7 separate regions of the Homo sapiens genome follow, and regions 1, 2, 4, 5, 6 and 7 are each linked to region 3. The links are contacts of gene promoters, found by promoter capture Hi-C in blood cells and fetal thymus (Javierre and others, 2016). All regions are on one chromosome and are shown on one strand. The core of a region is centred on a gene start or on the middle of the fragment in contact, and the rest is flanking DNA. Distances in the headings are between cores, read along the strand shown.

Region 1 (3,055 bases), core at 425-2,924, 470 kb after region 3:
TCCTCCACCTCTAGGTAGATGGAATTCACCCTTGGTCCACTTTGCAAGCTACAAGGTTGACACAGGTGCAGAGAACACAGACTCTCAGATGCTTAGGGATCATCCTGCTCATCACTCCCCATACAGGGAGAAACTGAGACCCAGGGAGACACAAGGGCTTGCTTGGGGTCACCCAGTATGTTTATGGCACCACCAGGACTTACACCCAGGGCTAATGTCTGCCTACCACTTGCTCAGTTACAAGTCTCAGCCAAGGCTCAGGTCTCTCCGCCTTGTCATCCCTGTCAGCCAGCCCCTTCCTTCTACTGATAGAGCCAAGCCTCAGTTTCCCTGTTGGAGTGAGTAAAGACATGAGGGTTTCTAGGTCAGGAGTTGGTGAGAATTTCAATCTGGTAATAAAGGGAGAGCAAGGAAAGCCAGGAGGTGTCAGAGAAGGGAGTAGAATCCTCCAGGCTAGGACTACTGTTAGGCAGAAAAACCTGTACTCAGGGCACAAGCAAAGCAGGAGCAGAGGGAGGACTAAAGTTCATTGCAAAACTATTAAACACTGTCACAGTTTGGGGCCTCTCAAGGTCTCAAGGGGGAATGATGATAAAGTTTAAGGGATCACCTAGTCCCACCTGGCTAGGGGGCAGGTAGTGGTAAGAAAAGGGGCCAGAATTTGAGGGTCCTTCTTCCCCTCTGCCTCACAGTGTCCCCTGAGGAGGCTATCTTTCTAGCTCCAGGCTCTGACCTTCTGGGCTCGTCAGACCCCAAGGGGCAGCTGGTCTCACTGCAAGAAACCTGAGAATTGTCCCCTGGGCCCTGACCCAGCTCCAAGGCCCCTTGGGGGAAGGACAGGAAGGGAGGAGAGGGCCACAGAACGCAGTAGATCTCCTCCCTCTTTGGCCCCTCCCAGCTACCCCAAGGGCAGCCCACACTCACCAGCTCTGGGGCCTGCAAGAGCCCTAAGACCAGCGCCTCAAACTTTAAAGCGTCATCACCTGGGCATATTGTTAAAAGGCAGCTTCTGTCTTGGCAAGACTGGGCCTGAGCCTGAGATTCTGCATTTCTGACAGGTCCCCAGGGATGCTGATACTGCGAGTCTGTGGAACACTCTTCGAGCAGCCCTGAGATTATCAGCCTTTAACCCCCGGGGGGAGGAAGCCGAAGGCCCAGAGAGGTCAAGTCACTTGTCCATGGCCACACAGCGAACAGCCCCAGACCGAAAGCAGAGGGCACCTGCCACAGACACACGACATCTCCCCACCCGAGGCAGCGGGAATCAGCTGCCTTTCCCTGGCCCGGGTGCCGTGTTTGTAAACTCGGCTGCTTGGTGCGGCTCGGGCCGGGGTAAAGGGCGCCTCCCAGCAGAGCCTCCCTCGTCTCTGAGCTGGCCTCTCCAGGTTCTCCGTCCGGTATCCCGGGCCGACCAGAGAGAGCCCGGGGCGCCGAGTCCTCTGCGGCGGAGCGATTCCGCACTCCCCTCTCCTCTGAAAGCAAACTTCTCCGCCGGCGCCCTTTACCTTTTTCGGGGGTTTGCAGCTGCTCAGCCTGCTGTGTCTGCAGCCCATCCTCCTCCGGGGGCTCCCGGACGCCGCTTCCCAACTCCGGGGCCCCCAGAGGAGCCTGCGATCCGGGCCCCGCTGCCCGCTCCGCGCCCGCCGGCTGGGGCTGCCGGCGAGACCCTGAAACTGAACCTGGAAGCGCTGTCTTGAGCCTGAGCTGGGGCGGCCGCCCGCCGTAAATACCCGAAGAGCGGGGCCTCAGTGTAGCCCGCAGGGCCAGCGGCGCCGCCACCAGAGGCAGGTGACCAGAATCCTTCTAAATAATAGGAAGCTCTGGTCAGGGCAGAAGAAAAGAAAACCTCAAGGAGCAACAGATGCTTTTCCGAACCCTCAGCTAAGAAAGGGCCGGGGGAAAAAATAATTAAAGCAATTATTTGATAAACTAACAACTATCATTCATTGAGGGCTGTTTTTGTCCCAGTTGTTTTATACATTTTATTTCTATTTCTTGCCATATCAGTGCAACAAAGGTATTACTTCCTCCATTTTACAGGTGAGGAAAATGGTGTTCAGAGATGCAACATGATTTGCCTAAGGTCACATGGCTAGTAAGTTACCACAGCCCAGATAGAATCCAGTTCCTTTTTTTTTTTTTTTTTTGCCGCTATCATAGTTCACTGCAGCCTCAAACTCCTGGGCTCAAGCGAGCCTCCCAGCTCAGCCTCCTGAGTAGCTGGGACTACAGAGGCTCACCACCATACCCAACCAAATTCTTTTCTTTTTTCCAGTCTGATTTTGAACGACCGCCCTCAAGCGATCCTCCCACCCTGGCCTCCCAAAGCGTTGGGATTACAGGCATGAGCCACTGCACAGAATACAGTTCTAACTCCAGAACCTAAACTTTGACTCAATGGCCTACAAATAAATCATAATACTAAGTTTATTGTATTTATTTATTTTTGAGACAGAGTCTCGCTCTATTGCCCAGGCTAGAGTGCAGTGGCACGATCTTGGCTCACTGCAACCTCTGCCTCCCAGGTTCAAGTGATTCTCCTGCCTCAGCCTCCCCAGTAGCTGGGATTACAGGCATGCACCACGACACCCAACTAATTTTTGTATTTTTAGTAGAGACAGAGTTTCACCATTTTGACCAGGCTGATCTCAAACTCCCAACCTCAGGTAATCCGCCCGCTTCGGCCTCCCAAAGTCCTGGGATCCCACACCTGGCCAATAATACTAAGTTTAATTTTAATGCCTCCTCACTTCTGGGCTGATAGTTTTTTCCACCTCACAAGCATCTGTAATATTTGACTCTATCCATCTTGGATAGATGTTATTCATCACAACAACCTCTTGAGGCAGGCCAGGTATGGTGACTATGGGACATAAAATGTCAGTGTCTAGGAAAAGGAGCTTTTGTTTATCTTCTCTTTGTTATTAGCTGAGGTTTCTGAAATGGCAATGCAGGAAAAAGATAACCAATTTTGAAAATCAGTGTGTATGCCTATTTGCGTGTATATTGGAATATTAAAGTCAGGCCCAAAACTCTTGGAAAGGTGTGCTGTGAA
Region 2 (3,157 bases), core at 429-2,928, 380 kb after region 3:
CCCAAGGGAGGGGGGCTTGGCCAAGGCCTGCAGCCCTGCACCACCTTCCAAAGCATCCAGGAGAGGGTAAAAAAGCCTGGCTGAGTATAGGAGATGAAAATGATCCCTGCAAGAATAGCAAGAGTCAAATATATATATATATATATATATATATATTTTAAGAGATGGGGTCTCACTCTATTGCCCTGGCTAGTTTTGAATGCCTGGCCTCAAGCAGTCCTCCCACATTGGCCTCCCAAAGTGCTGGGATTACAGGCATGAACCAGTGCACCCAGCCAGCCCCTCATATTTTTATGGCATTTTATGTTTACACTTTCACCTCTGTGAATGTCATTAGTGTAGCCATTTGTAGACGCTCTTAAGATTATTTCTATCACAGAAGCCAAGCCCAAAGAAGAGCCACTTGTGGGAGGTCACACAGAACTCAGACCTTTTCCCTCTGCTCTCCAGCCCCGCTCTGCTCTCCAGCTCCAGGAACCTTGCAGGTGCCAGCTACTGAGGGTGGGGTCCTGGGCACAGGGGGCCCAGAGACACTCTCATTTCAATGCCAAGACAAGGCACTGCCCCTCTGGGCCCAGTAAACTGCGCTGTGAACTGGCATCTGAGGACAAGCTGGCTTGGTCTTTGAGGGGAAGGAGAGAAGCGGCAGAGAGCCAGGGGATCTTAGACATCGAACCTGAACCTGAATGCACAATGGGACTGGTTCACAGAGAAGTCAGATGTGGGTCAGTTACATGGCACTGAAAAGTGGGGGGTCTGGGAGAGCAGCTGAGAGCTGGCAGAGTGGAGGATGCCAGAGCCTGTCACCGAGCACACAGCACAGTGACAAGGCACTTCATTTGTGCTAGGCCCTACACTAATGGCTGAGGAATTGGGGAGAAAGGGGACCCAATTCCTGTCTTTCACGAGCTCCTGGCCCAGTGGCAGAGACAGACAAGCACATCAATTACTATAAAGCTTGTAGTAAATACATTAAGACAAAAATAAGGTAATGTGGGAAAACAGCAGAGGCTGATCCAGCTGCGGGAAATCAGGAAAGAATCCAAAAAAGAGGGAATGGAGGGTGGGCCACACAGATCTTGCCTTCAAGGAGTCAGAGGTGGAGCAGAGTGAGTCCTGGACCGCCTCCCCCTCTCCCCGTCTCCGTGCCTCCCAACGTCTGCACTGCAGGACCCCGGCCAGGCCTCTGGATGCTCTCTGGTCTCTGTCTGCAGAGGCTGGCTCCTCTGAGGTATGCATGCGTCGGCGTGGAGTTACTATTTAAAGTTCTGACCAGAAAGGAACACAGCTCTCTTCCTGCCACCTGGGAATCCCCTGCAACCTGATCACGCCCCTGGGCAGAGACTTAAAGAGTAACACATGCCGAATACCCAGAGCAGGGCGCCTTGCAAGGAGCTCAGTGAGCGCAGGATGGGGGCTTTACTGCCAGCGCTCCCCTTGGCCTTACTTCAGACCTCACGGCCGGAGCTTGAGAAATTCCTGCTGCCTTCTCCACCCCGGTGGGCAGTTTGATCCAGAAACCTCTGAGAGCAGATACCAGATCCATCTGCCCACTGCACAGAGATTGACCAAATACTCAAGTATTTGCCACATGAATAAAATGAACAAGAACACGAAACAACTGGGGTCCTCCAGGAATTTCACTTCTAAATCCTTTTCTCTTTCTTTCTGGACACCTCCAGTCCAGCGATATCAAAAAAGCACAGCAGGCAATATTAGCTACTAGGATGGATGGAGAAACAAGAGGTGCCTGGGCACAGTGGCTCATGCCTGTAATCCCAGCACTTTGGGAGGCTAGACGGGAGACCACTTGAGGTAGGGAGTCAGAGACCAGCCTGGCCAATGTAATGAAACCCTGTTTCAGCTAAAAATACAAAAATTAGCCAGGCATGGTGGCAGGCACCTGTAATCTCAGCTACTCAGGAGGCTGGGTCAGGAGAATCACTTGAACCTGGGAGGCAGAGGTTGTAGTGAGCTCAGATCGCATCACTGCATTCCAGCCTGGGCGACAGAATGAGACTGACTCTGTCTCAAAAAAAAAAAAAGGAAACAAGAAGGTTCAGAGGCTCAAAATTATTTCTTTGCAACGATCCTTAAAGACCTTTTAGTTCAGCTTCCCACTCAGTTATTGAGTCCATGGAGAATGGAGACTGTCGTGAATAAGACAAATCATTCTGCCTAAGAAGAACCGTGGAGCCCCAGCTCTAGCACAGGCTTGGCATACAGGCTGGAAGTAACTGTGACTGGGCTAAATGAATGGATGGAGACACCCATGACGGCCCAAGCTCTGAGATGGAGGACGCCGAAGGGGAAGACAGTGAAGGGAGACCTCCCTGGCACTGGATCCCTAGCAATGCTGTCTCCAATGTCAGGACCTCCTGGGACCAGTGTGGAAATATTAAGCTTTGAAAGATGCCACCAGGGGCAGGTCCTCCAGGGTCTGTCCGGGCCCTCTGCAGGCTAGCCTGTTGCCATGATTCATGGCTGTTTTTCCTTCCACCTGTCTGACCAACCTGTCCTAATCCACAGCAGCACCAGTCTCCAATCCACTTCAGTCATAGGATGTCCCTCCCACGGCTCACTTGGAATAAGAGAGGGAAAGGACTTTGAGAACCACAAGCTGAGAACTAAATGAGGAAGGTAGGTCTATTACCACTTGTGTCCCAGAAGACCCAGAACAGAGAGGGCAGGTGACATGTCAAGACCACACAGCAAGTCAGAGGCCCAGCTGGGAAGGGAATCCAAGGCTCTTTCTAACAGACCATCTCTCCCTTCCCCTCAGATTCCATCTGGGTGGGAGCTGGAGATAAGAAGGGACAACCACCACATAGCCCACTGCTTCCTCCTGGTCAACCATGCCAGCCTGCCCCTCTCCTTGAATACTGAAGCATTTGAGTTATTGCCCTGTGCTGTTTGCCTCTATGCCATTTCGACCCTATATTCAAGGCTATAAAAAGGCAGCAATGCTGTCCAATCCACAGCATCCTAAGTGCTTCTCACATTCAGATACTCACAATTCCAGGGCAGCTAGGGCTACCCTACCATTCATTCATTCAATCAAGCAAGCAAGCAACATTTACTGAGAGTCTACTAAGTAGATGCTTAGGACCAGGGACCACTAAGAACTCAGAATCTGGTAGAGATACATGACAGCTTC
Region 3 (3,318 bases), core at 681-3,180:
AATTATTTTCTTTAATGTAGGTCCTATTTGACAATTATAGAACTCTAGTCACCTGCAAATGAAAAGACAATCACTGGAACATAAATACTATGATAGAAACTGGCTTTTTTCATCATCTGCTATAAACAGGTCAATTTGAAAAGATTAATAAAGTTGTTGCTCAAATAATCTCCAGGAACATAAAATACAATATTGCTAACTAACCTCTGCACTGACTCATCAAAAAAGGCAAAATACAAGTCATTCCTTTTTGCCCCCTTTCCAAATTCTGCTTGTCCGTTCATGTGCAGCTCCAGACCCAGATTCTCCATTAGAACTTCACTGCCTGCCCCAGCCCTCAGAGCTTCATCTTTCCCTAAACTCTAATGGCCTCCATATCACAGGTACACATCAGGCTGTAAAAGATGCTGTCACAGACTGGATGTCCTAATTGAAGAGAGTCTTAGAGACAGATCATGGAGACTGAGCACTCTATTCACCACAGGAGAATATGATCCAATAAATTCTGGAGGTGGAGCTGGAATAGGGAATCATCAAGGAGATACACATAAGGAAAGTGCTAATGGAGATGAGAAGAAAAATCGATGCCATATTTTTAATATATACGATTTTTCTTGTATTATTTAATTGCTTTTCTTGACTATTCCTATTATGAAAAGTATCTTCAATAAAATAAGTTATTAATAACACATAAAATGGCTTATAGTATGTGTTTTCATATGCATTTATTTTAACAGTCCCGGGATCTTCAGTAAAAAACACTCTGAGTTAGGCTGTTTAGATTCAAATCCAGGTCCTCCTTCCCACCCCCAAATTACTGGCTGTGTGACTTACAGCGAACACTCTGTATCTGTTTCTTTACCTGTAAAAAAAATTTTTTAAAAAAAGTATCCACTTAAATTGGTTTGAAGATTACATAAAGCACATGACATATAGCAAGTATCGAATAAGCAGCAACTATTACTACTATCAGCTTTTTCTTCACTAAGACTATGGCTTATTAAACAGCGCATTTTATGTCTTACTCGCCTTTTAATCCCTAAAGCTTACTGAATAAACAAGATGTGCCAAGCGCTGCAGAAGTTTTGGGGTTTTGTTATTTGGTGACTTTTTACTGGCCGGGGTCTTCTTTTTGAAAAATCCAACTTCGGACGCCCACTTGTGCCAGGGAAGGACAGCATTGTCCTCTAGCTCCATAAATACACTTTCAGCTTCTTACATGACATACTGTATTCTGAGCGCTTTTCACATAACTCACGCCGCCCCAACCTCTTCCCGGCTGCAGGCCTTGGCCTGAGTCAGGAACAGGGCAAGGCAGTCTGACGAGGGCCCAGTTTCTGGACAAAAGAGGAACAGAACTTTCAGGATGGGAGAACTATGAATGAGAACGCCTGCGCCTCCCTCCATCCTCGCAATAAATCCTGGAAAGGCAGTTTTTCGCCCCTTAAGTGGCCTGAACTAAGCACCCCCAGACCTTTCTCCGTAGTCCACCCAATTACCAAGCCCCATCGCAGACAGACACGGTCCCTAAGTCAAGTTTGTCCAATCAGAGGCCGCTCTAGAACCAGAAGATCCGCTCAGTCCCACCCGAGGCTGCTCCTCCTTTCCAAGTGACAGATTAGAAGCAAATTAAATCGCAGGCAAACCCGAGTGACGGAAGACATAACCAATCAGTAAGGAAGGAAAATAGCTCCAGCCTTCCGGTGGCAGTGACTAGCATGAACGCCGCGCCCCCCCCACCCCACATACTCGCTATAGGGCGACTCTGTTACCTCGTGAGACACACATTCCAGCGACCGCAGTTCGCTACAATAGCGGCAGAAGTAGAGTTGCGAGAGCGGGGCCCGAACCTTCTTTTCTCCCTGGACTAGATAGAGAACCCGGTCCGACTGCAGCAAGGACGCCATCTTGGGGAGGGAGGAGGCGATGACGCTCCCGGCGCATCACGTGACCCGAGAGCCAGCGTCTTCCTCGCTGCCTTCCCTACGACTTCCTACGTAGACTTTGACGTTAGGTTTCCCACCTCGTCCGGCTCTGCGCCCGTCGAAAACCAGAGCGCGCGTGCGCAGCTGGGATCCCTGTTTTCTCCCCAACTCTGGGCCCGTCCCCCAGCGCTTTTGTGAGCGTCCACTGCCCTTACTGCCATTAGGTCTGGACTCAGTGAGCTCCTTTTATTCTTTTCTTCCAGAATGGAAGCCTGATCTTTTGTCTTATTTACGACGGCCTCCTCTGCCCCACTTAACAGGCGAGCATCCAGGAGACAAATGGAAGGTCTCAAAGGGACAGGGCTCCGTGGGGACTGCAAGACAGGAGTCACACCAGCACTGTCTTCTGAGTCTTGCCAATGGCCTTTGGGAACTTTCACATACATTATCTCATTTGAAACGCAGGTTTTTGAGTACATAGTTAGCGTTAGGTCTAAGTCTGTATTGTGGACCTTCAATAAGTATGAAAAGGAGGGAATGAAATCAATGAATGAACAATGTTGGTAGGCGTCTACGTTTTTCTAATGTGTAAACTAAGGCTCAGGTCTGCCTCTTGGGTGAGCAGCGACTACGTGAGACTGGTATTACATGGGTGGGAAAATAATTTATCAACAGTTTTAGGTAAAGAAATGCAGATTTATTAGAGAAGGTATGAAAATACGTTGAAAGGTTGCAATGGGCAGACCAGCCAGAGAGGAGCTGACTTCAAGGAAACAAAGGCTTGCTGGAGATTTTATCCGATGGTTCTTGGGCTGCAGAGTGCTGTGCAGTACCGAGAACTCCAAGGTTACAGGGAGCTAACTTGCATGTGTCTCGTGATAGCTGAGTGCAGGAAGATTGTGAGTTATTTGCACAGGAGGGCTACGTGTCCTGCACCATGAAGAAAGGCAGACTTAGAGTGCATCTGCTCTTCTTGCTATCCCTTGGTCCCACTAGCCTGACTCCCTTTCTCTAACTGGGACTCCCCAGTATGTAAAATGACCACCTAGAACTGCCTAGCAGAAACTGGAGCCTCTGTTGCCTGCCACCAGGTCTACATTTTTATAATTGTAGTAGTGTTGTATTATTACCTGTCTGACGTTAGAGTTGGTGATTGAGAAGAAAGGGAACTGAATACTATTAGCAAACATTTATTGAGCACTTATTAAGTGCAGCACACTGTGTCAAAACTTTACATACATTGTCTAATTTAATTCTTACAACAGCTCCAAAAAGCATGTGGCTATCATTATTTCTATTTTACAGAGCAGGAAACTGAGGCACAGGGAAGTGCAGTGACTCCTCTATAAGGTTTCATAGATGGAGGTAGAACCCTTTTCTCTCTGACTCTAGT
Region 4 (3,280 bases), core at 261-2,760, 420 kb after region 3:
GGAGGGAAACCCAGCTTTTCTCTGCAGACTTGAGAAGCTTAACGTTTTTCACAAAGAACCTGGCCTTTAAGGTGCTCTGACACCAAGCTGAAGTGTGACCTTGGGCAAGTCACTTCTCCTTTCCCCAAAGAGATAAATGGTGCCTCTTACCTGACCCTGGTGTGTGAGTCAGAGATGCACCTGGGGCAGCTGATGGACAGTCCGTTTTTATCCCCTACCGTTGGGCCAACCACTCTACATCAGTGAACAGGCCCATGTGGTACACGGGGAGAGCCAGGTACAGCAGGAGGCAGAGGGCACCCTGTATGTGGAGGGGACCTGGGCTAGGGATGCTGGTGTCTACACCTGCTGGGCCACCAACCTTCAGGGCACTGGTTTGGCCACCACCCATGTCCACGTGACTCGAGGTCCTCGTGTCTCCTCTACCCCTTCCTAGCTCCCTCCCTGGCCACAGGCATCTGGATGTGGAGCAATAGGCAGAATCAGGGGTAGGTACCTGTGGGAACATCAGTGTTTCTGATGCCAAAGAGGGGTCCTGCAGTGCAGAAGGTGACTTCTCATTCATCCTCGCAGTCTCTCCCACCCCATCCCTCTGTTTTCACCACTTACTTCAACCTCAGCCTCACTCCAAGCCTTGGTCTATTTTGAAGGCCATCCTTTAATCCAGGCTTCACCCTAGCCCCAGGCCCCACATCCACAATTAGGGCAAAGCAAGGGCCAGTGGGGCTTTGGTGCTTGAGGAGAGTGCCCAGAACCACGAGTGGGCTACCCAGGCCCCAGATTTACTCTTCAGAGATCCCCACCATTGGCAGAAGTCCTTGTGAAGACCCACCTCCCCACCCTCCCAGAAAAACACAAAAGTCACATAAATAAGGTGCCGCATGTTCTTTTTAGTTTCCATACATCGTCTGTCCCAGAGTGAGGAGAAGTTGATCTCCTTCCCACATCCACCACAGGCTGCGTGAGGGAAGCCTGGCTCCCCACAACTTGCTCCTTCTCCAGCCCTGCCCCTCTCAATTAAAACAATGCTTTCTTTTTTCTTTTCTTTTTTTTGAGACGGAGTCTTGCTCTGTCACCCGGGCTGGAGTGCAGTGGCGCGATCTTGGCTCACTGCAAGCTCCGCCTCCTGGGTTCACACCATTCTCCAGCCTCAGCCTCCCAAGCTGCTGGGACTACAGGCGCCCACCACCACGCCAAGCTAATTTTTTGTATTTTTTTAGTAGAGACAGGGTTTCACTGTGTTAGCCAGGATGGTCTCAATCTCCCAACCTTGTGATCCACCCACCTCGGCCTCCCAAAGTGCTGGGATTACAGGCGTGAGCCACTGTGCCTGGACTAAAACAATGCTTTCTAAAGCGCATTCTGCAGCCTGATGTGCCTGTGAGGTGAGAGGTGTGGGAGGGACAGAAGCTTTGTTCAAAGAGGTTTGGGAGAGGCTGGATACTTAGCTCCCTTCTTGTAAGTTTGCCACACACATTGGCATATTAAAGGTTCTGAGAAGTCATTCAGGTCACTGATCTGTTTAGGTGTCCCCAAATAACTTGGCCACCAATCATGTCTACTCCTGGACATTAGTTCAATAAACTAGTGTATCGCAGATGTGCTTTGCAAAAAGCTTCATGAAAAAGTACACATGTGATTCCCTCCAGGGCTTTCCTCGAGGCTCCTGGGTGACCTGTCTGACCATGGCTGGAGAATCAGCACAGCACTCCCCTAGCCTCACCTCTTCCCCCATTTGGCTGTGGAAATGGAGAAACACAGTCACCTCTGAACTTCTAAACCTAGAAACAGAAGGAGACTGTACACAGGGGAATACAGAAGGCAGTCTGGGATGATGTCACTATAGAATGACTGATGAAAAATGCAGATTGACTGTTCTGACGCTGGCTTAGGGCCTGGGGCTGAAGCTGGGGACCTTGAGCAAGGCCCTTTGACTCCTGTGATCTGTTTGCCATGTTGCCAATGAGGAATAGGAACCTGCTTCAAGGATCTTATGAGGACCAGGGGAGGGAGGGGTATGGAAAGCCTTTGATGCAAATGCTCTATGCAGAACAGGAGTTATAATTATAGTCTCCATTAGACATGAAGCTTCCTGAGAAGGATCCGAAATCCACAGACTATCAGGACTGGACGGCCTGCTGAGGTTAGTTACTCTAGCCACCCCTTTTCACTGATGGGGAAGCTGAGCACCAGGTTGTAAAAGCCTGGGCCTGGGATCAGGGGCAGTGGGAGGAGGAGTTAAGGCAGGGAGCAGGAATGAAAAAGAAACTAAGTGGGTGAGGGCCAGGGAGAGGAAGATTAAGTCACAGATCTGATTTTCCAGAGCCTGAAGAGAAAAACAGAGCAAAGGATAAGACCCGGATGACAGATGAGATCTAGATTCGACTCTGGGAACTGCTCCATGCCTTGGTTTCCTCATCTGTGCAGGGATGAGGTTCCAGCTCTGATAGATGAATGGACTCACAACCACCAAGCTTGCCCCTGTGCCCAGGTGGCACCAAGACTGAAGGGCCAGGAGGGCTGAGGGGATGCACCTTGCCTGGTAAAGGAAGAGGAGCTCTGGCTACTGTCCCTTGGTGGACACGACTCTGGCCCAGGAATGATGCCTCAGCTGGGGAGGCTGCCTGGCCCTGTCAGCCCCAAGGGCCTTCAGAGACCCCCTCTCTACCACTCACCTTCCCCACTCTGATTTGCGGGGTTTGTCCACACTCCCCCCAACCCCTACTCTGGCCTTCAGACAATCCTAGAATGGGACACTGCAGTGACATAAGAGTCCTTTGACCAGTCCCCCCACCATTTTAATGCAGGGGTAAACTGAGGCTCTGAGCAGGCCAGGGTGGAGTGGAAACACCTAGAGGAAGTTGATAAGTCAGCAAGTCGGCAGCAGAGCTGACAAGCTGGGACCAGGGGCTGTCTCCTTTATGTCAAATGGCCAGCGTGACACAGACTGCCCCTGGGAAAGCCTCGGAACTTCTCGGATTGGGACAGAGTGCTGGGGCAGGGAGGAAATGTCTCCTCTTGCTTATTCCCTTGGCCAACTCAAGGGAAGACGCTTCTCGGGGCCTCCAAAACCCTGTGGGTGATTCCATGTAACTCAAGGCCCCAGGGCTCACTGGGCACACACCCAGGATCTCCATCTCGCTCCCACCCTCGTTCCTTCCTGGAAAAGAACTGAGAGGCTCCTGCTGTCTTCTCCAGAAAAACCTTGGAAGGAGCTGTGACTTCAGGCGTCGTGGTGGGCCCAGGCCCTGCACCCTATGTGGCGAGGAAAGAGACCTCA
Region 5 (3,020 bases), core at 255-2,754, 500 kb after region 3:
GAGCTCATTTTTCCTGTGATCTGTGATAGTTTCTTTTGTCAACCTTTTTCTTCTTCTCCTTCCTTGCTGCCTGATTGTCCCCAGCCATCCCAGCTCAGTAGCTTTTCCTGGGATAACTGTGATGAAGGGAAGGACCCTGCGGTGATCAGAAGCCTGACTCTGGAGCCTGACCCCATCATCGTTCCTGGAAATGTGACCCTCAGTGTCATGGGCAGCACCAGTGTCCCCCTGAGTTCTCCTCTGAAGGTGAGCCTGGGGGTGGGTGGAGAAGGGGAGGTGCGAGGGTCTGGCCAGCAGGGGTACTGGGGCATGTATGCTTGGGGAACTGTGAAGAATTTCAGAATCCTGGATTCCCAGAGAATAGTACAGGACATGTAGATTCAGACACTCTTTCACAGGTTCATGGAATCTCAGGATCATAAGATTGAAAGGAATCTCTGATGTCAGCGCCAGCAACTTCCTGGTGAGGGCAGGAGTGACGGATACCTTGCACCTGGCAGAAGCGTCCTGGCCTTCTCTGGGCCTGGTGGCCAACTGCTCATTATTGTCTGACAGCTCTGGTTGGCCAATTTGGTTTTGTTGTTAATTATAAAATTGATATACCAATTAGCCAGTAATATATAGTCACTTTAGAAAACACAAGTGGTCAAAAAATAAATAAAATAGGCCAGGTGTGGTGGCTCATGCCTGTAATCCCAACACTTTGGGAGGCTGAGGTGGGTGGATCTTTTGAGGTCAGGAGTTTGAGACCAGCCTGGCCAACATAGTGAAACCCCATCTCTACTAAAAGTACAAAAATTAGCTGGGCGTGGTGGCATGTGCCTGTAATCCTAGCTACTCAGGAGGCTGAGGTAGGAGAATTGCTGGAACCCAAGAGGCAGAGGTTGCAGAAAGCCAGGATCGCACCACTGCACTCCAGCCTGGGTGACAGAGTGAAACTCTGTCCCAAAATAAATAAATAAATAAAATAAATCACTTGAAATCTCACTACCTAGTGATAAGGGATAAGCACTTTTAACATCTTATAGGATATTCTTTGCAACTTTCCCCCATACAATTACATACATAACACACATATTTATTTTTAATGGATATGTATGATAATAGGCAGTGCTCATTGTAAATGTCCTCCAGTAATCTAAATCCTAGAGATAGTCAGTGTTTGCTCTTTATATATCCCATCAGAATTTTTATGTGTTTGTAAATATATACACACTTATACTCATGGGATTATATGATATGTGCTATTATACTTGCTATTTTTTTTGCCTCATACTATATGTCCATATCTTTCCAAGGATTAGGTGGCTCTACTTATTCAATTTTTTTTTATCCAATCATTATTTTATTATTTTAATGTATTGTAATTTTAGAGACAGTGTGTCACTCTGTTGCTCAGGCTGGAGTGCAGTAGTGTGATCATGGCTTACTGCAGCCTTGACCTCCTGGGCTTAAGGGATCCTCCCACCTCAGCCTCCTGAGTAGCTGGGACCACAGGTTCATGTCACCATGCTTACCTAATTTTTTTATTTTTTATGGAGACGGAGCCTCCCTGTGTTGCCCAGGCTGGTCTCAAACTCCTGAGTTCAAGCAATCCTCCTGCCTCAGACTCTCAAAATGTTGGGATTATAGGCGTGAGCCACCTTGCTCAGCCCACCCAATCATTTTTAATGGCAGAAATATTCTGATGTGGATCTTTCATAATTTATATAACAAGTCTATTGTTGAACATTTAGTTTGTTTCCAGGGTAGTTTTTATTTGTTTGTTTGTTTATTTGTTTGTTTTGAGACAGGTTCTTACTCTGTTGCCTAGGCTGGAGTGCAGTAGCGCAATCTCAGCTCCCTGCAACCTCCACTTCCCGGGTTCAAGCGATTCTCCTGTCTCAGCCTCCCAAAGTGCTGGGATTACAGGCACCTGCCATTGCGCCCCACTAATTTTTGTATTTTTAGTAGAGATGGGGTTTCACCATGTTGGCCAGGCTGGTCTTGAACTCCTGACCTCAGGCAATGTGCCTGCCTCGGCCTCCCAAAGTGCTGGGATTACAGACACCTGCCACCATGCCCAGCTACTTTTTGTATTTTTAGTAGAGATGGGGTTTCACCATGTTATCCAGGCTGGTCTTGAACTCCTGACCTCAGGCAATCCACCTGCCTCAGCCTCCCAAAGTGCTGGGATTATAGGCTTGAGCCACTGTACCTGGCCAGAGGGTTTTTTTTGTTTGTTTGTTTTTTGTTTTGCTGTAGTAACCACCTTTGTAGAAATTATTCTTATAGTACATCTTTTTATAATTTTCTGATTCTCTAGATACACACTTTTTAGGTCTTTTGATACATTTTGCCAAAGTGCCTCCCAATGTTTGAATAAACCTGCATCATTCCTAGTGAGCGTAGATGTCTATTCATAAGTTTATTTGCCTTTTGTATTTACTTTGGGAATAACCTGTTTGTTTCCATCCATTGACTATTTTAGGGGTGTATGTTTTTATATTTTCTTAGAAAACAATGAAGACTTTTCATATATCCATTGCAACACCATTTAATATGGTCCTTTCCTCTCTAGCTAAAATTGCTACCTTTATATGATGCTCCTCTATGCCCTTCAGTCTGTTCCTGATCCAGATCTATTCTAGTACCAGTTTTGTGTTAATTATTTAGAAGATTCCTGATTTGGATTCTGTGTTTCTATCATTATCCTTAGACCTGTCTTAATCACAGCTCCTACGTTATGGGCTTTCCTTGAGCAATACCTGAGTTAGAAAATCATGTGGAAAGTGCTTTGCACAGGGCCTGGCACCCAGGACATGCTCAGTACATTTTATATCTTGTGAACATTTCGATTAGTATCTGTCTTATCCTGCAGTCTCTTGACCCAGACACAAGTCCTGGATATGTGGCAGCTTTCAGCTCCCCTGCACCTCCTACCAAGCCTTTTCCTAGCAGAGTCATTGTGTTTCCATTACTGTTCCTCAAGTGATAGGGGGTCAAGCCCTGTACCCTTGGATCTGGGCCAAGGGATGGAA
Region 6 (3,316 bases), core at 407-2,906, 400 kb before region 3:
GTTTGATCTTCCTTGGAAGAGCAGTGGTAAACCAATGGAGAGTTTTGAACTGGTGAGACAGTATCCTAAGTAGTCAGATCCCTTTGCCCTGTGGTGTAGGCTCTGCTCCTAATGCTTGCTCTCAGAACCTCCTGGAGGGACTAAAGGGTGATGGGCCCTAAGACGTTATGTATGCTTTTCCCAGTTTCTCTGAACCTCACTTGCTCTTCCTACCGCAGCTATGGTACTTCACAGATAAGGGGAGCAAGAGATAGTACCCATCTTCATTGGAGCAAAATATCCTGCCGTCATGGAGCACACATTCTAGTAGGAGCAGACAGGTGACAAATAGAAAAAGTTTAATAAGTTAATGATATAGTATATCCAATGATAGTTGGTGCTTGCTATAAAAGGCAGGCAAGGGGGATAAGGGATGTCAGACTTCGATTATAAGTAGGGTAGTCAAGGAAGTCTCATTGAGAAGGTGTCATTTGGGCAGAGACCTGAAGGAAATGAGGGAGTGAGCTGTGTAGTTAACAGGGGAGAGAACATTCCAGACAAGAAGAATAGCAAGGCCGCGTTAGAGGCAGGGTGGCCTGACACATTTGAGGACAGCAAGGAGGACACTTTGCCTGAGGTGGAGCAGAGGGAAACTGACTCTTGAAATCTTAGTGTTACCGGCTCACTGCTGGGCACTGACAGATGGTCTTGTTCAAACCAGATAGCAGCCTGCAAGGTAGGTATCGCTGTTGTCCCCATGTTAAGAAGAAATCTGAAGTTCGAAGACGTGACGAGATTAGTTCAGTCCACCCGTGCCCCACATTGCTTAGCCTCATTAGAGTACTTGATATCCTGGCTTATTGACATTTACAGAGACATTGGGCCCTCTGGCCTCTGCTCCAAAGGCCTGGATTCCACCTGGTTCCCTCTGCTTCCACCAAGGGACTGGTACCATTTGGGCCCAGTCTTCTCCCAGCAGACTAGTAGACTGTGGTCATGCCACCTGGATGCCTCAGGTGTCTGGGCTGTGATTCGTGCTTTGGGAAGATTGGCTGGCCACGTCTTTGAAAGCTTTTTTAAAGGTCAAAGGTGGGGAAAACCCTGTCTCATGGCCTCTAGGCATGGATAGTGCCAGAGAGGCTGGGAGCTGGATGAATGCTAGCTTGGAACATTCCACCTCTGGCCTTTCAAAGGGGTTGTCTAAAAAGGTTTTAGTTGGGATTGGTTGTTCTTCTTGTCTCTGGAAGGTTTGGGACAGAACTGGCAGGGCCAAGCAGACATACTTCCCAGAGCAAAAAGACCCTCTTTTTTTTTTTTTTTTTTTTTAAAGAAAGGGTCTTGCTCTGTTGCCCAGGCTGGAGTGCGGTGGCACAAGCATGGCTCACTGCAGCCTCGATATCCTGGGCTCAAGTGATCCTCCCACCTCAGCCTCCTGAGTAGCCGGGACCACCAGTGCATGCCACCATTCTCAGCTAATTTTTAAATTTTTTTATAGAGACAGTCTCACTATGTTGCCCAGACTGGTCTTGAACTCCTGGGCTCAAGTGATCTTCCTGCCTCAGCCTCCCAAAGTGCTGAGATTACAGGTATGAGCCACCATGCCCAGCCAAAAAGACCCTCTTCTGAACCACCTGTCTATACAAGTCATGAGTTTGGGGAGATCTGGGCCCAAGAAGGATCCTTACTGTGCTGGGGATTAATTGTGGCTTTCTCTTTACCTCTCTGCAGAAGTGTTTCCTGGCTCAGCCCGTAACCCTTCTGGACATCTATACACACTGGCAACAGTAAGTGGTGGGGCCTATAGGGTGGAGTAGGGACGGACACCCCAAGCAACTCAGCTTGGAATAAGCTGGGATACCTATCTGGTCTAAGATCTGTCCCCATAGCCCACTGTGGACACCATTGTTGCCTCCAGAAAGCCAGCTCACATCACATGGATGGGTATTTCTGTGTGGATATCTGGTAGTGGGAGGGGACATTGAGAGCTGTGATCTCTTAAGAACAAGAGCTTCTCACCAGCTTGTCAGTTGCTCAGCAAACGTATATTGAGCACCTCCTGAAAGCCAAGTCCTGTTCTTACTTAGTATGCAAATATTGTCACAAGTGAGACAGACATGGTTCCTTCTTTCCTGCAGCTGACATTGTAGCCAAGGAGGTAGGCATAAGTCAAAGAATGAAACAAATGAATGTTAAATTACAGTGGTAGTAAGGATTACAAAAGAGAGGAATCTGTTGCCACAGCCACATAAATGGGTAAGTCTGGCTTCATCTGGGGGTCCAGGGGAAGCTTCCCTGAGGTGATCTTTGACTTGAGAGCTATAGGAATTGGAGGAGTGAACTATGCAGTGGGTAGAGAGTGGCAGGTGGAGTGTACCTGCCAGTGGAAATTGCTAATGCTAAGTCCTGTGGCTGGTGGACAGTACAGATGGGGCTAGGTCATCGCATGGATAGCCATGCATGGGCTGGTTATCCATGGTGAGGAATTTTGTCTTTATCCAAGAGCAGTGGGGCCATGGTAGGGTGAAAAAGTGAGGAGATTGCTCTGCACCATGGTGAGACTGGTGGGGCCATGGTCACCATCGTCCAGGCAAGAGCTGATGGGGCTTGACACAGGGAGAACAGGGTAGAAAGTGGATTCCCAAGAATCATAGGGATGAAACCAGGGCCTGTGGATGGGTGGGAGAGGAAGTATCTTATTGACTCCACATCTAACTTGTGTACCCATGCATAGAGCTTGAAGGGAACTCAGTTTGGAGGGGAAAGATTTCAATGACATGTTGAGTGTGAGATGCCTTTTAAACATGTAAAATTTATGTACTCTTCAAGGAAGGGGGAATCATCCAAGGATATATCAACAGAGGAATGGTTGGAAAATGGAGAGAGTAATTGTGTTCTCTTCATGCACTGGCCTGACCACAGCTGACTAAGGGAGTGAAGGACATGCAGACATATCCCATGAGGAATGGTAGAGAGTACTGAATTGCCTTGGATGGAAAGGAGGCAGGAGAGGGGTGTGAGGGACCACTGCACATCTTTGAGGACCAAGAATAGTGCGTTCTCTGAGGCCCCGGAGACAGAAGTGGGCCCCAAATGTACCTGCTTCAGGAAGACAGGTTTCAGCTTCTGAATATAATGACATCAGAGCTATCTAAAAATGAGGTGGGCTAGGTGGAAGTGGTGGGCTCCCTGTCATTAGAGGTGTGTAAACAAAGGCAAAAATGGTGTGGAAGGGATTACAGCCTCTGGTGGAGAGCTAAGGTCTTTGAAAACCCTGCCAACCCTCAGTCCTCTGCTGCTAAGGAGAGCTTAGAGCACAGGGCACAGCCCACACTTCCTC
Region 7 (3,436 bases), core at 635-3,134, 400 kb after region 3:
CTTGAAGCTGGAAGGTAGAGGCTGCAGTGAGCCGTGATTGCACCACTGCACTCCAGCCTGGGCGACAGAGTGAGAACTTGTCTCAAAAAAACAAAAGTACAAAAAACTTGTGCTCTAGTCATTATGAAATGGCATCTATAATTGTGTTTTTGATTTGCATTTCCCTTCTGACTAATGATGTGGAGTATCTTTTTTGTGTGCTCATTGGCCACTATTTGTACATCTTCTTTGGAAAAATATCTAATCATGCTTTTTGCTCATTTTTAAATTGGATTTTTTGTCTTTTTTGTTGTTAAGTTATATGAGTTCTTTTTATATTCTGGATAAGACTTTTGTGTTTGTTTGAGACAGAGGCTCGTTCTGTTGCCCAGGCTGGAGTGCAGTGGTGCCATGTCGGCTCACTGCAACCTTCACCTCGTGGGTTCAAGCAATTCTTTCCGCCTCAGCCTCCCAAATAGCTGGGATTACAGGCACCTGCTACCATGCCCAGTTAATTTTTGTATTTTTTTAGTAGAGACGGGGATTCATCATGTTGGCCAGGTTGGTCTTGAACTCCTGACCTCAGGTGATCCACCTGCCTTGGCCTCCCAAAGTGCTGGGATTACAGGTGTGAGCCACCGCACCTGGCCAAGACATATTTTTTAAAGGGTCACTGAAGTCTCCTGTGTTGGAAATACTGAATACTGTTGGGGGAAGAGTAGAAGAAGGGGATCTGCTAGGAGATTTTGCAGTAATCCAGGCAAGAGACAGGCTGGTATAAATGCAGGTGGGGGAAGTGGTTGGAGATGGGATGTATTTGAAGGTTGAACATGATTTCCGAAGGATCAGGTGGGAGATGAGAAAGAGTCAAGAATGGCTTCAGGGATCCTGGCCTGAGCCACTGGAAGGATGGAGTTACCATCAACTGAAATGAGCAAGACTGCAGGGAAAGCAATTTTGGGAATTAGAAGTGGGGAAAAGATCAGGAGTTCAGTTTTTGACCAGTTTGTTGAACATTTCTATTAGACACCCAACAGGAGATGTCAAGTACGCAGTTGGCTAGTCAAGTCTGGAGTTCAAGAGATGAGATCCTTAAGGGAGAAGAGAACTAAATATGGAGTCCTAGTTCGGCAAAAGGAGTCAGGCTGGCAGGACCAAGGGAAAGCAAAAAGAGAAAGCAGATAAGCTATAAGTCTGCCTTTCTTCATGGCCCAGGATGCATAGCCCTCCTGTGCGAATAACTCACAATCTTATCTGCGCCCAGCTATTGCCAGACCCTCACCTGATAGAAAAATGCACGCAAGCTCCCTGCACCCTTGATGTTATCAGTACTGCACAAAGCCCTCTTCAGCACACAGCACAAGCACCATCCTATAAAATCCTTAGCCAGATTTTGTTTTCTTGCAGTTAGCTTCTGTTTTGCTAACTTGCCCGTTGCACCCTTGCAACGTATTTTCTTTTCTTTTCTGTTTTTCTTTTGAGATGAAGTCTCACTCTGTCGCCCAGACTGTAGTGCAGTGGCACTATCTCGACTCACCACAACCTCCGCCTCCCGGGTTCAAGCGATTCTTCTGCCTTAGGCTCCTGAGTAGCTGGGATTACAGGTGCGTGCCACCACACCTGGCTAATATTTGTATTTTTAGTAGAGATGGGTTTTCACCATGTTGATCAGGCTGGTCTCAAACTCCTGACCTCGTGATCCACCTCGGCTTCCCAAAGTGCTGGGATTATAGGCATGAGCCACCACGTCTGGCAGCAATGTATTTTCATACTTTCTCTAATAAATCTGCCTTTCTTTACCTACAACTGCCTTGGTAAATTCTTCTTACTGCCTGTACCGCCAGCCCCAAATAGTTGCTGATCACCCACGATGCTAAGGACCGAGTCTGAGACACTCTTATGTTACCATTTGGGGAGAGGCCGGACCCGGTGGCTCATGCCTGTAATTCCAGCACTTTGGGAGGCTGAGGTGGGTGGATCACTTGAGGCCAGGAGTTCAAGACCAGCCTGACCAACATAGTTAAACCCCATCTCTACTAAAAATACAAAAAGTTAGCTGGACGTGGTGGTGCATGCTGTAATCCCAGCTACTTGGGAGGCTGAGGCAGGAGAATCACTCCCAGGAGGTGGAGATTGCAGTGAGATGGCACCATTGCACTCCAGCCTGAGAGACAGAGTGAGACTCTCAAAAAATAAAATAAAAGAGTTGGGGAGAAGAAAAGAATTCAGCAAAGGTGACTGGGAAGGAGATTGTAGTAAGATGGGAGGAAACTACCCCAGGAGAATGTGGCAGCAAAGTGAAAAATAAGGGAGTGATCAGGTGTGTCAAATGCTGCTTTTAGGTAAAGTAGGACAAGGTCTACAAATCTATCATTGGGTTTAGCAATGTGAAAGCCAACTTATCTCTTGCTGTGAATTGCAGAATGTTGGGGGTAAAGGCCTGATGGGAACGGTGTAAGATAAAAAGCCTAAACTACTTATTCTGGGAGTTTTGCTGCGAAGGCCAGCAAGGGAATGAGGCAGTGTCTGGCAAGGGAATTGGTGTCAAGAGAAGGGCTTTTGTTTGATTTTTTTAAAGATTGAAGACATAACAGCATATTTGTATGCTGGTGGGAGTTATCATATAGAAGGTAAAAAAATTGATGGAGGAGAGAGAAGGGAGAATTCCTGCAGCAATGTTTGGAGACAGAATGGGCTGTAGTGTACAAATGTCAGGGCTATTTGTATTCTTAATTTGCAATAAAAGTAACTGAAATTTTTGATCTTTGCCCAAATTCAGCCCACGTGACTGAGGCAGGATTGAAAGCCAGATTCCCTTGACTGCAGAGCCCAGGGCCTTAATTCCTGAGCTACAGCAGCAAGTAGGAGTAAACACTAATATACTGCTCATTCTCTTTGAGCTAATCATCACTTACAGGAATCAATCCTAAGAAAATAATCTAAAATACAGAGGAAGCTGTAGGCCCAACACTGTTTTATTGTTGTTGTTGGAGACAGGGTCTCACTCTGTCACTCAGGCTGGACTGCAGTGGTGTGATCATGGCTCAACTGCAGCCTTGACCTCCCCAGGATCAGGTGATCCCCTCACCTCAGCCTCCCAAGTAGCTGAGACTACAGGTGTATGCCACCTGCCCAGCTAATTTTTGTATTTTTTGTAGAGATGGCGTGTCACCATCTTGCCTAGGCTGGTCTCCTATGCTCAAGCCATCCTCCTGCCTCAGCCTCCCAAAATGCTGGGATTACACCAGCATTGGTATAATGTGAGCCACCATGCCCAACTTTTTTTTTTTCATTCTTTTTTTTTTTTTGAGACAGGGTCTCATTCTGTCCCCCAGGCTGGAGCAGTAGCACAATCTCAGCTCACTTCGGCCTCAACCTCCTGGGCTCAAGCTATCCTGATGCTTCAGCCTACGGAGTAGCTGGGACTACAGGTGTGCACCACCACGTCCAGCTAATT

What was found. The method cuts DNA at HindIII sites, captures the fragments that hold promoters and counts their contacts. A CHiCAGO score of 5 or more calls a contact.
Region 1: a contact is called between the fragment with the promoter of CCDC69 here and the fragment with the promoter of DCTN4 in region 3, in 10 of 17 cell types (fetal thymus, neutrophils, naive CD8 T cells and 7 more). The highest score is 15.8, in fetal thymus.
Region 2: a contact is called between a fragment that was not itself captured here and the fragment with the promoter of DCTN4 in region 3, in 2 of 17 cell types (naive CD4 T cells and total CD8 T cells). The highest score is 5.7, in naive CD4 T cells.
Region 4: a fragment that was not itself captured here is called in contact with the fragment with the promoter of DCTN4 in region 3 in 1 of 17 cell types (naive CD8 T cells); the score reaches 5.0 in naive CD8 T cells.
Region 5: a contact is called between a fragment that was not itself captured here and the fragment with the promoter of DCTN4 in region 3, in 2 of 17 cell types (non-activated CD4 T cells and neutrophils). The highest score is 6.9, in non-activated CD4 T cells.
Region 6: a fragment that was not itself captured here is called in contact with the fragment with the promoter of DCTN4 in region 3 in 3 of 17 cell types (total CD8 T cells, activated CD4 T cells and naive CD8 T cells); the score reaches 5.5 in total CD8 T cells.
Region 7: a fragment that was not itself captured here is called in contact with the fragment with the promoter of DCTN4 in region 3 in 1 of 17 cell types (fetal thymus); the score reaches 7.5 in fetal thymus.

What each region holds. Positions count from the first base shown.
Region 1 is chr5:151,222,418-151,225,472 of GRCh38, forward strand. It overlaps CCDC69 (coiled-coil domain containing 69), which reads right to left and starts at 1,675. Exons shown (of 9, transcript NM_015621.3): 1 at 1,506-1,675. The coding sequence starts at 1,553. It overlaps LOC105378230 (a long non-coding RNA gene), which reads left to right. Exons shown (of 4, transcript NR_160730.1): 4 at 1,059-1,933. RefSeq lists enhancers at 1,098-1,207, 1,228-1,427 and a silencer at 1,548-1,627. The HindIII fragment of the contact is 18,522 bases long and covers 1-3,055 here.
Region 2 is chr5:151,140,450-151,143,606 of GRCh38, forward strand. All of the region lies in intron 2 of ANXA6 (annexin A6), which reads right to left. Among named protein-coding and RNA genes, the nearest start is that of ANXA6, 16 kb to the right of the region's middle. RefSeq lists enhancers at 1,063-1,142, 1,163-1,372. The HindIII fragment of the contact is 1,446 bases long and covers 956-2,401 here.
Region 3 is chr5:150,757,087-150,760,404 of GRCh38, forward strand. It overlaps DCTN4 (dynactin subunit 4), which reads right to left and starts at 1,931. Exons shown (of 13, transcript NM_016221.4): 1 at 1,773-1,931. The coding sequence starts at 1,907. RefSeq lists enhancers at 1,207-1,276, 1,707-2,006. The HindIII fragment of the contact is 18,997 bases long and covers 1,044-3,318 here.
Region 4 is chr5:151,180,182-151,183,461 of GRCh38, forward strand. It overlaps CCDC69 (coiled-coil domain containing 69), which reads right to left. Exons shown (of 9, transcript NM_015621.3): 9 at 871-3,280. The coding sequence ends at 3,256. It also overlaps the pseudogene PDGFRL2P. Among named protein-coding and RNA genes, the nearest start is that of ANXA6, 24 kb to the left of the region's middle. The HindIII fragment of the contact is 205 bases long and covers 1,409-1,613 here.
Region 5 is chr5:151,259,671-151,262,690 of GRCh38, forward strand. It overlaps GM2A (ganglioside GM2 activator), which reads left to right. Exons shown (of 4, transcript NM_000405.5): 2 at 85-246. Among named protein-coding and RNA genes, the nearest start is that of GM2A, 8.0 kb to the left of the region's middle. The HindIII fragment of the contact is 6,835 bases long and covers 1-3,020 here.
Region 6 is chr5:150,359,449-150,362,764 of GRCh38, forward strand. TCOF1 (treacle ribosome biogenesis factor 1) reads left to right here. Exons shown (of 27, transcript NM_001371623.1): 2 at 1,708-1,763. Among named protein-coding and RNA genes, the nearest start is that of TCOF1, 3.4 kb to the left of the region's middle. RefSeq lists a silencer at 3,181-3,316. The HindIII fragment of the contact is 1,216 bases long and covers 1,049-2,264 here.
Region 7 is chr5:151,160,195-151,163,630 of GRCh38, forward strand. No RefSeq gene overlaps it. Among named protein-coding and RNA genes, the nearest start is that of ANXA6, 4.1 kb to the left of the region's middle. The HindIII fragment of the contact is 7,646 bases long and covers 1-3,436 here.